Regions from separate parts of the Homo sapiens genome. Here region 2 is linked to region 1. Evidence: promoter capture Hi-C in 16 types of primary human blood cells and fetal thymus (Javierre and others, 2016). All regions are on one chromosome and are shown on one strand. Each heading gives the region's core, a stretch centred on a gene start or on the middle of the fragment in contact. The rest is flanking DNA. Distances are from core to core; before and after follow the strand shown.

What was found. Contacts are between HindIII fragments. The CHiCAGO score rates a contact against its expected background, and 5 or more counts as called.
Region 2: a fragment that was not itself captured here is called in contact with the fragment with the promoter of DCAF12 in region 1 in 1 of 17 cell types (erythroblasts); the score reaches 6.2 in erythroblasts.

The regions. Positions count from the first base shown.
Region 1 is chr9:34,123,157-34,130,946 of GRCh38, reverse strand. It overlaps DCAF12 (DDB1 and CUL4 associated factor 12), which reads left to right and starts at 4,249. Exons shown (of 9, transcript NM_015397.4): 1 at 4,249-4,593; 2 at 5,670-5,924. The coding sequence starts at 4,516. RefSeq lists a silencer at 4,515-4,564 and an enhancer at 3,999-4,700. The HindIII fragment of the contact is 23,268 bases long and covers 1-6,546 here.
Region 2 is chr9:33,818,237-33,826,026 of GRCh38, reverse strand. All of the region lies in intron 1 of UBE2R2 (ubiquitin conjugating enzyme E2 R2), which reads right to left. It overlaps UBE2R2-AS1 (UBE2R2 antisense RNA 1), which reads left to right and starts at 7,159. Exons shown (of 5, transcript NR_170204.1): 1 at 7,159-7,400. The HindIII fragment of the contact is 4,626 bases long and covers 786-5,411 here.

The sequences.
Region 1 (7,790 bases), core at 3,000-5,499:
AAAAAAAAAAAAAAAAAAAAAGAAAAGAAAAGAAAAATGAAAGAAATTTCCAGGCTAGGCATGGTGGCTGATGCCTGTAACCCCAGCACTTTGGGAAGCCGAGGTGGGTGGATGACCTGAGGTCAGGAGTTTGAGACCAGCCTGGCCAACACGGTGAAACCCTATCTCTACCAAAAATACAAAAATTAGCCAGGTGTGGTGGCGCAGGCCTGTAGTCCCAGCTACTTGGGAGGCTGAGGCAGGAGAATTGCTTGAACCCGGAAGGCAGAGGTTGCAGTGAGCTGAGATCGTGCCACTGCACCCCAGCCTGGGTGGGAGAATGAGACTCTGTCTCAAAAAGAAAAAAAAGAAATTTCCAGAACCTCAGAAGGCTCCCTGAGGTCCCCTGCCAGTTAGTAATCCCGCTTAAGGGTAATGACTGATTTCTCTTACCATGGATCAGTTGTGCCTGTTTTCATACTTCAAAAACATGAAATTAGGCATTTACTAATTACATTTAGGAATTACTGCTTTGGTTGGCCTCAGTGTCTCATACCTGTAATACCAGCACTTTGGGAGGCCAAGGTGGGAGGATCGCTTAAGCCCAGGAGTTTAAGACCAGCCTGGGCAACCAGGCGAGACCCTGTCTCTACAAAAGATAAAAAATAAGCTGGGTGTGGTGGCACATGCATGCCATGCCACTGCACTCCAGCCTGGGCAACAAAGCGAGAACTTGTCCCTCAAAAAATAAAAATAAAAAAAGGAATTACTGCTTTGTGTTTGACTTTTTTGGAGACAGGTCTGGATCTCCCAGGCTGGAGTGCAGTGGCATGATATTGGCTCTCCACCTGCAACCTCCACCTTCTGGGCTCAAGCTATCCTCCCACCTCAGCCTGCCAACTCCCAAGTAGCTGGGACTACAGGTACATGCCACCCCACCCAGCTAATTTTTGTATGTTTCTATAGAGACAGGATTTTCCCATGTTGCCCATGCTGGTCTCAAACTCCTGAGTTCAAGCAATCTACCTGCCTCAGCCTCCCAAAGTGCTAGGATTACAGGGGTGAGCCCCGTGCCCAGCAGTGTGTTTGATTTTTTTTTCTTTTCTTTTCTTTTTTTGAAACGGAAACTCATTCTGTTGCCCAGGCTGGAGTGCAGTGGCTCGATCTCGGCTTACTGAAGCCTTGGTCTCCTGGGTTCAAGCGATTCTCCTGCCTCAGCCTCCTGAGTAGCTGGGACTACTGGCGGGCACCACCATGCCCAGCTAATTTGTGTATTTTTAGTAGAGAGGGGGTTTCACCATGTTGGCCAGGCTGGTCTCAAACTCCTGACCTAAGGTGATCCACCCGCCTTGGCATCCCAAAGTGATGGGATTACAGGTGTAAGCCACCACGCCTGGCCTGATATCTTTTATGCAATATTATAAAATTCATTCACACAGTTTTGTCAAGGTGAAATAAAATATATAGATGAATCTCTAAAATTAAAATGTTTTGTGAAGCAGGAATTGTAATTCAGGGCACACGCAGACTGGGTGGTCTTTGCCATGTCTGCAGAACAAAGAGAAGGTTGGAAGTTTTGTAAAAAGGAAGTGTTATGTATTGCTCTTCAAGAAAGTTCACTGGCACTAGTAAGGTTTTGGAGAGCTGGCAAGTTTTGATTGGTAAGTGAAGGCAATAAGTAAAACTATTTCTGAGAGTCACAGTAGGTTGTTTTAACAGCTATTAGATAAAACTGCTTTCAGATTATAGCACGCAGTTTCAGCAGTGAGGCTCACTAAGAATGCCATTCTTGGAGTAGTTACATGCCCTGAGTACTTTTTCCCCCAGCCACTCTACTACTTTATTATTGTTATCATTATTATTTTATTATTTTATTTTTTACACAGGGTCTTGCTCTGTCACCCTGGCTGGAGTCCAGTGGCATGATCTCAGCTCACTGCAACCCAGCTACTCAGGAGGCTGGTCTCGAACTCCTGACCTCAGGTGATTGGCCCAACTCGGCCTCCCAGTGTGCTGGGATTACAGGCGTGAGCCACCGCACCTGGCCTGCAGTCTTTTAAAGGCAATTGTCAATTAAATTTCCAAAATGGACTTTCATTCTGTTATTTGAATAGAAATGGTGAGCTCTTGGCCAGCCGTGGTGGCTCATGCCTGTAATCCTAGCACTTTGGGAGGCCGAAGTGGGCGGATCACCTGAGGTCAGGATTTTGAGACCAGCCTGGCCAACATGGCGAAACCCCATCTCTACTGAAAATACAAAAATTAGTGGGCAACCATCCTGGCTAACATGGTGAAACCCCGTCTCTACTAAAAATACAAAAATTAGTGGGCAACCATCCTGGCTAACATGGTGAAACCCCGTCTCTACTAAAAATACAAAAAATTAGCCAGGCGTGGTGGCGGGCGCCTGTAGTCTCAGCTATTCGGGAAGCTGAGCCAGGAGAATGGCGTGAACCCAGGAGGCGGAGCCTGCAGTGAGCCGAGATCGCACCACTGCACTCCATCCTGGGCGACAGAGCGAGACTCCGTCTCAAAAAAGAAAAAAAAAAATTAGCTGGGCAACGTGGCGAGCACCTGTAATCTGAGCTACTCAGGAGGCTGAGGTAGGAGAATCACTTGAACCCAGGAGGCAGAGGTTGCAGTGAGCCGAGATCGTGCCACTGCACTCCAGCCTAGGCTACAGAGTGAGACTCCATCTCAAAAAAAAAAAAAGAAAAGAAATCGCGAGCTCTGCTATAAGGTACATTTGGGGATGGTTCCTAGGTTGTGAAGATGAAGTAAAGGAACTTTGAGAAAGAGACTGCAGCAGTGCCCAGTGTGCCCCTCTTGGCACTGACAGCCCAATCTGAGCCTAGAGATTCTCAAAGGATTCCAGACTCTTGCCCAGGGGCTCTTGGGTCATCCAGAGCATTGCGGGGCAAGACAGAATTAGAACAGACTCAAAAAAGAAAGCTGACCCACTCCTGACCCACTCACTATGTGCATATCTCTAAAGGGACAGGCCTGACCAAATAAGATGGAGCTGCCTTTCGCAAGACATTAGGGGTTAGTGGTAGTGCCGACTTGGGATGGCAGGAGACCCTGCTTCAATCTGGTCTTTGATTCGGCTTGGAAAACAAATCCAAATCTCCTTGTTGACAGAACTTGAGATGGTCCAACAGAGCTCCTTGGAGGTATGAGGCCTGAGGCCTGAAGCCTGAAGTGACCAGCAGGTAACTGGGCACCACAGCCTGAGGCCAATCAGCCCCAAGCAAGAGCATCCTGCTTCCTCAGAGGGTTTGTTTGCTTGAGGAAAGCGAAGGCTGGCAGTCATATTCCTTCAGGATCTTCCAAAAATGTTGGCAAGGGTGATCCTGATGAAGCCCCCTTGTTTGGAGGCCAATGCCAGCTCTAACTGGACTGGCAAGCCAAAAATGACCACTCTCTTTCCTGTAGTTCAGAATTCCCGACCTGCCCTAATGGAGACGCAACCTGAATCCAAGAGTGAGGCAGGCAGCTACAGATAAGTTTACAGCGTGATGACTACTTCATAAAGCACAAAAGACCATGTGGTTTAGATGGCAGGTCATGGAAATCTAAAGGGAATGGTGAAGTTGCACCGTAAGGGGAAGGTGACTGAGGAGCTGAAACTGACTGAGGGGCTGAAGCATTTCGGACAGGAGAAAGGATCAGGAGGAGACAGAGCGGAGAATGGAGCCTCAGGGCTACCCAGCGGTGGGAAGAGGGTAGCCAGAGACTCGTAGGGCGGCCTGGGTTGGTTGTGCTGGGCAGGTTCTCAGTGGTGGGAAAGTCTGGCCACACTGCCCTGACTTCCTGACTGGACTTCACCTCGAGGGTGGGAGCGGTTCCTGCCCCCCACCCCCCCACCCCCCTGTCCAGCCCTTGGAGCCAGGGCACGGTTTGTGACAGATTCAGGGAAACGTTTGGTGCCAGATGGGAGGTAACCGGGTTAAGGCCTGCACTAGGGAGGATTCCTTCCCCCAGCAGCACTGGTGGTCCTCACTTCCGGGTGCCTGCGGATAGGCGGGCTGGGGTCGGAGGTCGGCGGCCAGAAGCCAGATTCCCTTGGCCCCAGCTCGTCCACTTCCATCCAGCAGTAGCCAAACAACCGTTGAAAATGGCCTGGCGGCGGCCGGGAAACACCAGAGAACTATCTTCCAACCCCTAGATCCCGCCCATCTCGTTCCGGCGGTGTTTCCGTGGCGACGCTATCCGAAGTGCGGCTGCGCAAGGGTGACGGCGCGCGAGCAAGGGGGAGGGGGTGTTTTGGTTCTAGCCGCTCGCCGTCCTTGCAGGCTCTGCCGTCGGAAAGCCGCTCATTCTCGCTTCCCCTTCCCTTTCCCGGCTCAAGTCCTTCCTCTCTCTTTCCTTTCTTTCCGCCTATCTTTTTTCTGCTGCCGCTCCGGGTCCGGGCCATTTTCCGGGCCGGGCGCACTAAGGTGCGCGGCCCCGGGGCCCAGTATATGACCCGCCGTCCTGCTATCCTTCGCTTCCCCCGCCCCATGTGGCTGCGGGGCCGCGGCGGCGCTGCCCACTATGGCCCGGAAAGTAGTTAGCAGGAAGCGGAAAGCGCCCGCCTCGCCGGGAGCTGGGAGCGACGCTCAGGGCCCGCAGGTGAGGGTTGAGAGGCCGGCACCTGGGTGGTGAGGCTGAGGAACCAAGATGGGCTTAGGGTCCGCAGATCCTGCGACGGGAATCGGGGTCCAGGGTCTGCAGTCAGAGGCAAAACAGGAATGGGTTCAGGGCCTATAGGGTCAGGACTGGACCCTCGTTAACTGGAGGGCAGATAGGCCAGGGCGGTGAGGAGCCAAAGGGGAACTCAGGAATGGGACATAATCCGCGGGAGGCCTGCATTCGTGGATAGGGCTTGAAAAGAAACCAGAATCTTGGCTTTGGAGGAAGGGGAAACCGAAGTTAAGGGAATCGGAAACAAACTCTGGTAGAGTGAACTCTACCTTCCATGGGCCCTAGGAAGCTGGGATGATTGCGTCCCTCCTGGAAGAAGGAAGTAGTCTCCCTATATGTATACCCAACCCTGAGCTGGGCCTTTCGGCGTTTGGACCCCAAAAGAAACAACAGTTCCCAGGTATCATCTCTATGCCGCCCCCTTTGGAGGGGAAGGCCTTCTTGGACATAGATATGGCCTCTGATTTCCCGGGGGCCTACTACCCCGTTGGCGGTTGATTTTTCGAATTCTGCAACTGCCTGGAGCGCGGGCATGATGACAGAGGAACGGTCATTGATGATGCATCCCTGGAAGACCTGGGAGCCAGGTCTGGCTCCTTGGACTGTATCTTCCGTGCTCCAGTGGGAGTACAGACTGAGAGGGAGAAGGGGGCTGGGTAGAGATGCAGCCCATGTCGGTATGGGAATCACTCTACCTCTCATTTCCTTCAATCTTTCACTCCTAAAATGTCTAGTAAACCTTTTAGTCTGTTCTATTCTGCATTCATTCCCTTGACTTTCAGCCCTTGTAATTCACATTGGTAAGTTTGACTGTGAGCAACATCTTTTTAATGTTGGAAGAGTTAAACGACTTTCTGGATTGAGATTCTTGTTCTCTTGTGTTTGTATTTGTGTTGTTTGTAAATTCTGCAGTATGAGTTATGAGTTGGTGATTTCTGTAATACAGTAGGATCTGTTCTGAAGAAGAGTAGCCAAAGCCCTGATTTCTAATGTTGTTTCCACAGTTTGGCTGGGATCACTCGCTTCACAAAAGGAAAAGACTTCCTCCTGTGAAGAGATCCTTAGTATACTACTTGAAGAACCGGGAAGTCAGGCTACAGAATGAAACCAGCTACTCTCGAGTGTTGCATGGTTATGCAGCACAGCAACTTCCCAGTCTCCTGAAGGAGAGAGAGTTTCACCTTGGGACCCTTAATAAAGTGTTTGCATCTCAGTGGTTGAATCATAGGCAAGTGGTGTGTGGCACAAAATGCAACACGGTAAGTGCCTGGGGGGATGTGACCTCTCTCCTAGGTCGTGGATATATTGCTCCACTTGCTCTAGAACCTCTGCTAGTTTTCCCGTCTGTTTCTTTTAGGAGGGACTTGCCTTACTCTCCTTTCCATTCTTTCCCGTTGGTGACTTCTTCCTCTTTTCGTGTTCCTTTTTTCACTCATACATTTCTTTTCTGATAAGTCCTCAAAGGAGTGTATTTCTTCAGGCCCTCTCTGGATGTGCTGCTTCTAGAGGGTTGTTTGTTTGTTTGTTTGTTTTTGCCTCATATTTTTATGCTGGTTTTTAAGTCATAGGCCTCAAAGGAAAGATTTAAGAAATAATGATGCTTAGAGCATCATTCAGGATACATAATAGTGAAAACAGCCTAAGAACGTATGTCGAAGTATTTAAAATAGCACACTTGGCTGTTTTTTAGTGAACAGAATCTAAAAATGTATAAACTGAAATATGAGAAATACATGAACTGTTTCCTATAAGGAAGGCAGGGAATGTGTGTCTGGTAGTATATTTCAGGGTATAAGCATTAGCTCTTTGGAAAGTAGCCTTTTTAAGAGTGAATAGAAAGACAGTTATAAATGAATGAAGTGAAAAATTTCTCAGTAAGCTTTGTAACCAACCCAATTATAGGCCAGGATAAAATAAGTCAAAGAGCAGAAACGTTTGGAATAGAGTCCACGAATAGCATGATGTCACAAGACTGGCAAATGAAAAGAGGCAGGGCCTAGGGCCTAGGGGTGGGAAATGATTACGCCCAGCCCTCCCTCGGTTTTCACCTCCCCTGTGTGAATGGACAAGTAATGTCATAATGTGTGAGTAAATTGACCCTGGAATGAAACACATTTTGGATCATTAAAAGAGAGAAGATTGCTCTAGATCAAGAAAGTCTTAAGTACTAGGAGAAGTGTCTGTTTATAAAGGACATAGGCAAAAATTTAAACAGTTTTAAGGAAGGAAATAATACCATGGTGGTTGGTCTGTTTATAAAGGACATAGGCAAAAATTTAAACAGTTTTGAGGAAGGAAATAATACCATGGTGGTTGGGGCCAACCTTTCGTTTCCTCTTCTGTTGAGGAGTCGCTTGTCTTACCCAGAAGCCTTTCAAAACTAAGTGGTGGCAACGGGCCTCCACAGAACTTCCTTTTCTTGGTCTCTCCAGCTGCCCACTCGTGGTTAAGAACTGTCATCCTTGTCACTTGGAGTAGAAAAAGAGTCTCCTGCTTGGAAGAGTTCATTCCACTCCCCGCACGTGCATCATAGTGTTTAGCCTAGCAAATATTACTGAATTGTAAACTGAATTAATCATCATAGCCTCTTGCTTGTTGAATTTATTGACACTATTTTGAAGGCGAGCATAATAAGTAATAATTTAACCTACTCTTAATTCCTACCTCTTTCTGTCTTCCTAATCCTCATAACCTAGTGTTTGGGGCAAGGGGAGCTGTTTTCATTTTATAGTTAGTATTTGTTTGTTTTTGCTTAGCTTCCAGAACCAAAGCAGGGAACTAGGAATAGTGCTCTTCTCTGAACTTTGTGACATTGGGCAAATGATTCCCTTATTTGTGCTTTTGTTTTTGCATCTGCAAAATGGGAGTGATAATATCTGGTGCTAAGGTGTCTGCATGCATCTGGGAAATATTCTGAGTGAGCAATATCTTACTTATTTAAAAGTACTAGTAGCGGTAAAAATGATTTCCATAACCTTTTCCCACAATTTGAAGAGAGGAAAATTATTTAAAAATTGGAATTGTCTTTGGATAATGTGTGAAGATTTCAGAGGTGGGAGAGATTATGTTGTATTCTCAATAGGAAAGTTTTGATGTAGAATGTCCCTGTGCTGTGGGCTAACAAT
Region 2 (7,790 bases), core at 1,849-4,348, 300 kb after region 1:
GGACTACAGGCGCATGCCACCACACCCGGCTACTTTTTGTATTTTTAGTAGAGATGGGGTTTCACCATATTGGCTATGCTGGTCTTGAACTCCTGACCTCAAGTGATCTGCCCACCTCCGCCTCCCAAAAGTGCTGGGATTACAGGTGTGAGCAGGCATGAGCCACTGCATCCAACCAACTCAGATATCTCTGTAGTCGTATGTGAAGCAGTTCAAAAGAAGTTCAGAAACATAAAAGAATTAAACCTTTTCAATATAATCTTTAAGCAAGATGGAAATCTGTAGTCCTAAACTCTGAATTTATACCTTTTCCTCACTGTTATTTTTCCATAACTAGATTATCAGAGGTAGCCTAATTTGCTGGATGGTCTCCTTTCTCTCACGTGTCTCCAACTGACCATTAAGTTGGAAAGATGGAACAGAACATTTTATCATTATGTTGAAAAATGGTCTAACTAGCCTTAAAGCTTTAAAAGCTTTGCTTTTGGACAGGTGTGGTGGCTCATGCCTGTAATCCCAGCACTTTGGGAGGCCGAGGTGGGTGGATTACCTGAGGTCAGGAGTTTGAGACCACCCTGACCAACATGGTGAAACCCCATCTCTACTAAAAATACAAAAATTAGTCTGGCATGGTGGCACACGCCTGTAGCCCCAGCTACTCGGGAAGCTGAGGAGGAGAATTGCTTGGACCCAGGAGATGGAGGCTGCAGTGAGCCAAGATTGTACCACTGCACTCCAGCTTGGGTAACAGAGACTCTGTCTCAAAAAAAAAAAAAAAAAAAGCTTTGCTTTTATGAAGATCATTCTTTTTGTTTTTGTTGTTTGCCTCCCAAAGTGCTGGGATTACAGGCGACCGCCTGGCCGATCATTCTTAAAAGCTCTAAGGTTATCATTGTCCTAATACTTTCACTTACTATCTTTAAGGAAGTGACTTTTCCTACAATTTGCTTTTCCTTTAATGAGTCCTCAATAAAAATTTTTCCTGACACAAAAGGTGAAAAAAGGAGAATCAACGCAGAGTATTAATTAGGACCTAAATCCTTCAATCCAGGAAGAAATAATCCTTATTTTAGCAAATCTATGACATTGAAACTGGTATTTAAAAAAAAATTTACCAAAAGATTTCAATGAAATGGTCTCTCACAACTAGGTTATAAGTACCACTTGGCTGATGGCAATTACAAGACTTCATGGATTCCAAGAATTTTTTTTTTTTTTTTTTTTGAGACAGAGCTTCACTCTGTTGCCCAGGCTGGAGTACACTGGCATGATCTAGGCTCACTGCAGCCTCCACCTCTTGGGTTCAAGCAATTCTCCTGCCTCAGCCTCCCAAGTAGCTGGGACTGCAGGTGCGGACCATCACACCCGCTAATTTTTTTTTTTTTTTTGAGACAGAGCCTCGCTCTCTCGCCCAGGCTAGAGAGCAGTGCCTCGATATCAGTTCACTGCAAGCTCCGCCTCCCGGGTTCACGCCATTCTCCTGCCTCAGCCTCCCAAGTAGCTGGGACTACATGTGCCTACCACCATGCCTGGCTAATTTTTTTGTATTTTTTTAGTAGAGATGGGGTTTCACCACGTTAGCCAGGATGATCTCCATCTCCTGACCTCGTGATCCGCCCGCCTCGGCCTCCCAAAGTGCTAGGATTACAGGCATGAGCTACCGCGCCCGGCCCACACCAGCTAATTTGTGTATTTTTAGTGGAGACCGGGTTTCACCATGTTGGCCAGGCTGGTCTTGAACTCCTGACATCAGGTGATCCACCCGCCTCGGCCTCCCAAAGTCCTGGGATTACAGGAATGAGCCACCACACCTGGCCATCTAAGAAATTTCTTAATCAAAAAGAAGTTAAAAGGTAGAAAAATATGCATCTTGTAATCAACTAAACAGGATAAAAGCATATTCTATGAAAAACTAAGGCATCATATTTGGTTTGAAAAATGTTCTGAGAAACAACAAAAAGTGAAACTTCATTTAGTTTCCAAAACCCTTAGACCTTAACTGTGTTTCCATTTATAACGTTACCTTAGTTCACCCAGTACTCAAGACAACTTCATCTTCCAGAAAGAGACAGCTAAATGCCCTAAGAGGTAGTTTCAAAGTTAACTGAGAGAAATGGGGGAATAAAAGAGCATTCGTTTTATAATTTTAAAGGAGCTGTTTAAAATTGTCTTTAAGTTGCCTATCCAAATACCTTACAAGAGGATTCTTAGCTCATCGGCAGTAAACCCTCTGAAAAAGATACATAAAATTAGTTTACGTGTACCCATTTTCTCTGAGAAAATTCTTCAATTTCTCAAAAGAATCCCTGTCTCAAAAAGGCAAACAATCATTTTCCTAAAAAAATTTTTTCAGCCAGGCGCGGTGGCTCATGCCTGTAATCCCAGCACTTTGGGAGGCCAAGGCGGGTAGATCATCTGAGGTCAGGAGTTTGAGACCAGCCTGGACAACATGGTGAAACCCCGTTTCCACTAAAAATACAAAAATTAACCGGGCGTGCTGGCACGCACCTGTAATCCCAGCTACTTGGGAGGCTAAGGCAGGAGAACTGCTTGAACCCGGGAGGCAGAGGTTGCAGTGAGCCAAGATCGCGCCACTGCACTTCAGCCTGCGCAACAGAGCAAGACTCCATCTAGGAAAAAAAAAAATTTTTTTTCAACTATATTTTACCAATTAAAGAGTCATAAAATAGGCTGGGTGCAATGGTTCAGACCTATAATCGCAGTGCTTTGGGAGGCTGAGGCGGGAGGATTACTTGAGCCCAGGAGTTCAAGACAAGCCTGGACAACATAGCGAGACTCTGTCTCTAAAATAATAATAATAGGCTGGGCACACTGGCTCACATCTGTAATCCCAGCACTTTGGGAGGCCAAGGTGGGCAGATCACTTGAGGCCAGGAGTTCAAGACCAGCCTGGCCAACATGGCAAAACCCCATCTCTACTAAAAATTACAAAAATTAGCCAGGCATGGTGGTGCACGCCTGTAATCCCAGCTACTTGGGAGGCTGAGGCACGAGAACTGCTTGAACACAGGAGGTAAAGGTTGCAGTGAGCCGAAATCACACCACTGCAGTCCAGCCTGAGCAACAGAGCGAGACTCAGCTAAAAAAAAAAAAAAAAAATTAATAAGAAGAAGAAAAAGAAAAAAAAGAAATAAAATATCTAAATGACATTGCCAGATCTAGGCTAAGTCTGGTTTGTTTTTTTAGGGGGAAGAGGGAAGGCAGAAAATAGATTCATTCATTGCAAAACAAATGAAGCATAGGAAATAATGCATATTCTCTTATTAAAAAAAAAATTATTTGGCTGGGTGTGGTAGCTCACATCTGTAACACCAGCACTTTGGGAGGCCAAGGTGGGAGGATTGTTTGAAGCCAGGAGTTCGAGACCAGCCTGGCCTATGAGACCCTTTCTGCATAAACAATTTTTTTTTTAAATTAAAACGAGTGTGGTATGCACCTGCAGTCCCAGCTACTCAGGAGGGTGAGGCAAGAGGATCCCTTGAGCCCAAGTGTTTCAGGCTGCAGTGAGCTATGATCACACCACTGCACTCCAGCCTGGGCAACAAAGTGAGACCCTATCTCTTAAAAAAAAAAAAAAAAGGTTTTGAAGAGTTTCTTTAATGTAAGTCAGTGTAGGCCAGGTGTGGTGGCTCAGGCCTGTAATCCCAGCACTTTGGGAGGCTGAGGTGAGCGGGATCACCTGAGGTCAGGAGTTTGAGACCAGCCTAACCAACATGGAGAAACCTCGTCTCTACCAAAAATACAGAATTAGCTGGGCATGGTGGCGCATGCCTGTAATCCCAGCTACTCAGGAGGCTGAGGCAGAAGAATCGCTTGAACCCAGGAGGCGGAGGTTGCAGTGAGCCGAGATCGCTCCACTGCACTCCAGCCTGGGCAATAAGAGCAAAACTCAGTCTCAAAAAAAAAAAATATATATATATATATGTCAGTGTTGAGTCTAATAAAGATGTTCCTAATAAGGAAAACTTTAAGTATACAACAAATACTTTCTAAATTATCAGACTGGAGTTTTCTAAAAATGGAACACATCTATATTTCATTACCTCAATCAAATTATTTAATAAAATCAAAACTATAAAAGGTTGGCCAGGAGTGGTGGCTCAGGCCTCTAATTAGGATTACATTTTGGGAGGCTGAGATGGGCAGATCACTTAAGGTCAGGGGTTCAAGACCAGCCTGGCCAACATGGTGAAACCCTGTCTCTACTAAAAATACAAAAAGAATTAGCCAGGTTTCATGGCGCACGCCGGTAATCCCAGCTACTCGGGAGGCTGAGGCAAGAGAATCGCTTGAACCCAGGAGGCAGAGGTTGCAGTGAGCTGAGATCGTGCCACTGCACTCCAGCCTGGCAAAAGAGTGAGACTCCATCTCAAAAAAAAAAAAAATTTTTTTTTGTTATGCATATCATAAAAGAGGCACTCTTTCTGGCTCTAGACTCACTGCTATAATGCTTTAGATAAATAATGCAAAAGTTCCAAGGAGGTTCAGTACTAAAGCACCCACACTAAGCTACAATCCTTAGCAGGAGTTATTTGAAAAGATAGTTCCAGCCGGGCATGGTGGCTGACGCCTGTAAAACCAGCACTTTGGGTGGCTGAGAAAGGAGGATCCTTTGAACCCAGGAGTTTGAGACCAGCCTGGACAAAATAGTGAGACCCTACCTCACTTAACAATACTGAAGAAAAAAAAATTAGCCGGGCGTAGTCATGCCTGTAGTCCCAGCTACTCAGGGGGCTGAGGTGGGAGGACTGCTTGAGCCTAGGATGTGGAAGCTGCAGTGAGCCATGATCACACCACTGTACCCCAAACTAAGTGACAGAGAAAGACCCTGAAAAAGTTCCTTTCAAAAGAAAGGGGGTGAACTTGTTAAAAGTCTTCATTAGCTACTGACTTGATCCACAATTTATTTTTCTAGTAACAATAAAATTCCGACTTGCTTAGGTAGCAAAATAAGAAACTACACAAAAAGATAGTAAGGCCAAAAAAGATTGTATAGTATTCAGAATGGACAGAAGAAACTATCTTTGCCCATCCTACATCTATATGGCCCAAAACTAAGAATCACGTGGATTGGCGATATTAAATAAGCGAAAGCAGGATGAATAAAAAAATTCTGTGAAATACAGGTCTCACAAATCTCCAATGCAGATCCTGTGGGTAAGAGACAAGAGCCAACTATTTCAGGGTGAAAAAGATCAGTTAGAAACCTATTAATATATAAAAGTTAAAGGAATTACAGTATGAAAAATGTAAAGAATGACTGGCAGTCCCACTGCCTTCACGAATGACTATGCCAAAAAGGGAAAAGAGTTTAACTTGAAAATAAATTATACTAAATGTTCAAGGACTAACATTTAATAAGGGAGAAGAGTGATATGGTAGGGAAAGCTTTGTGCCAACTTTCAACTGCAGCTGTAGTGAAATACACTAAAAGCCTTGTCTTAAGACAAAAGCAGTAAAATAAAAACAATGGTTTTAAACATATCCCCAGTGTCAACTGCTCATGACCATAAATTTGCCTTTTTCTAATGAACAACTAATGGGATAAAAGGCCATATAAGGGAAAAAGTAGTCGAAAATACAATCGAACAAACTTCTCACACAAGACTAAACCATAAAACCTGTTTACAAATTTTCATACATGTCAGAATTAAAGGTAAAAACACTCAAAGCTTAAGAAATCTAACATCACAAAGCACGAGATTAAATCATTCTTTTAAACAAGGACTGAAGTTCAGAAGCATTTAATTTAAATCAGTGTATTAACACAAGGAATCCTTCCATACTTCCTATTTCAGAGAGGGTTCTCCACACTCCTTTCCCAGACTTATGCACAAATATTACAACTTGCAACCCATTATTTTCTCTCATGTACAAGTTTTGTTTTGTTTTGTTTTGTTTGCTCTTGTTTTTAACTTTATTGGAGTGAGATTATTCTAACTAGTACCCATTTATTTATTTTAAATATCGGTTGTACCAAACAATGACACTTTTTGGAAATCAAACTTTATTCCACTAACATTAGCCAGCAGATTTTGCTAAACAATGTTTTGTCAGAAAAGGCATCATGGCCGGGCGCAGTGGCTCACGCCTGTAATCCCAGCACTTTGGGAGGCAGAGGCGGGTTGATCACAGGGTCTGGAGTTCGAGACCGGCCTGGCCAATATGGTGAAACCCCATCTCTACTAAAAATACAAAAATTAGCTGGGCGTGGTGGCGTGCGCCTGTAGTCCCAGCAGCTTGGGAGGCTGAGGCAGGAGAATAGCTTGAATCTGGGAGGCGGAGGTTGCAGTGAGGCGAGATCGCGCCACTGCACTCCAGCCAGGGTGACAGAGCGAGACTCCGTCTCAAAAAAAAAAAAGAAAGGTATCACATACATTCAATTTTGTACAACTAATTTTTCCAGTATGCATAAAAATTTATATTTGACAACAGAGAATATGCTTCATCATAAACACAGCAATATCTTTTCCACTTTGTTACTAATAAGTTGCATGTTTTCTTAGTAATTTTAAATACCTCCATCTGAAAAGTATAGGGTAGGCTGACCACAAAAGATGAAGCCTAACAGTTGGTAGGGGTACCGCACTTACATAATATTCTAAAAACGTGCTTTTCCTAGGTACTCAGTGACTATATACAGTAGTGAATATTAAACATTCCTGTATCAATCCCATTTCCTACAAAGTTGACCTAATTTCAAGCATAAAACTGAGGTTTCCACCTTTAGAAGGGTAGAAAACAAGAGTTAAGTAATTGGGTAGTCCTAAAAATACACATCACAACTACATGACTAAGATACTCATTTAAAACTTGTGCCAAGATAACCCCTCCCTTCCAAACTAAAATTGACTCACTGGCCTATTTTACTTAATTTTGAAAATAAAAAAATAAAACTAAATGGATTCCTAAGCACTCATTTCCTCTCTCTGCCCCCATCATTTAAAATATTCAGACTTTCAATCTGTGATTCCTCCCTGCAAAAACACTCAAGTAAAAACAAAACAAAACAAACACTCATTATCTCCAAGTTAACTACCTTGGAGTTAAAAAAAAATCATTAGATTCTGGAATGATAACCACTGTTCTAAGACCATATAAAACAACAGAAACAATGTCTGTGGTCGCTAAGGAACCATACATCCCACCCAGAGAAACGATCTCGCCTCAGATGATACTTGTCATCTGTGAGACCACCCCTTTAGCTAGAGTTAACCACTTGAGCAGGTTTCAATTTTGTCTCTGAAAGTAGGAAGCTATCAGTCTCCCTACATGACTCGTTCCACCCTTTGTGGATACTTCTACCTGTAGAAAAAAAGGTTGGCAAACTTGGTGGCATGGTGAGGACAAAGGGCATTTTGAAAGAACCAGTGACTGAGGTAAGCAGAGAATGTGAACGGAAAGAGGGTTAAAGTTCCCCCAAATGGATAATGACAAGACGACGCGGGCACCCTTTTTTTTTTTTTTTTTTTTTTTACCACCCCTAGGGTCCCATTCTTCACCACCACCCATTGGAATGCAAAGTTGGCACTACCACTACCCAAGATGCCCAACAAATCCTCAAAATGTCAGGGCACTCGGCAGCTTCTGAAATGACAAGCTGGTGCCCCTCCCCCACCCCACCCCCACCCCCACCCCCCAAAAAAGAAAAGTCCAATCCAGTCGGTGCAGGTCACCCTGCCCTCTGGGGCAGTTCCAGCCTGCGCAGGGAGGGGTTCCGACCGGAGAACGAAAAAGCACAGATAGACCACCGCTCTTTCCACCCACCC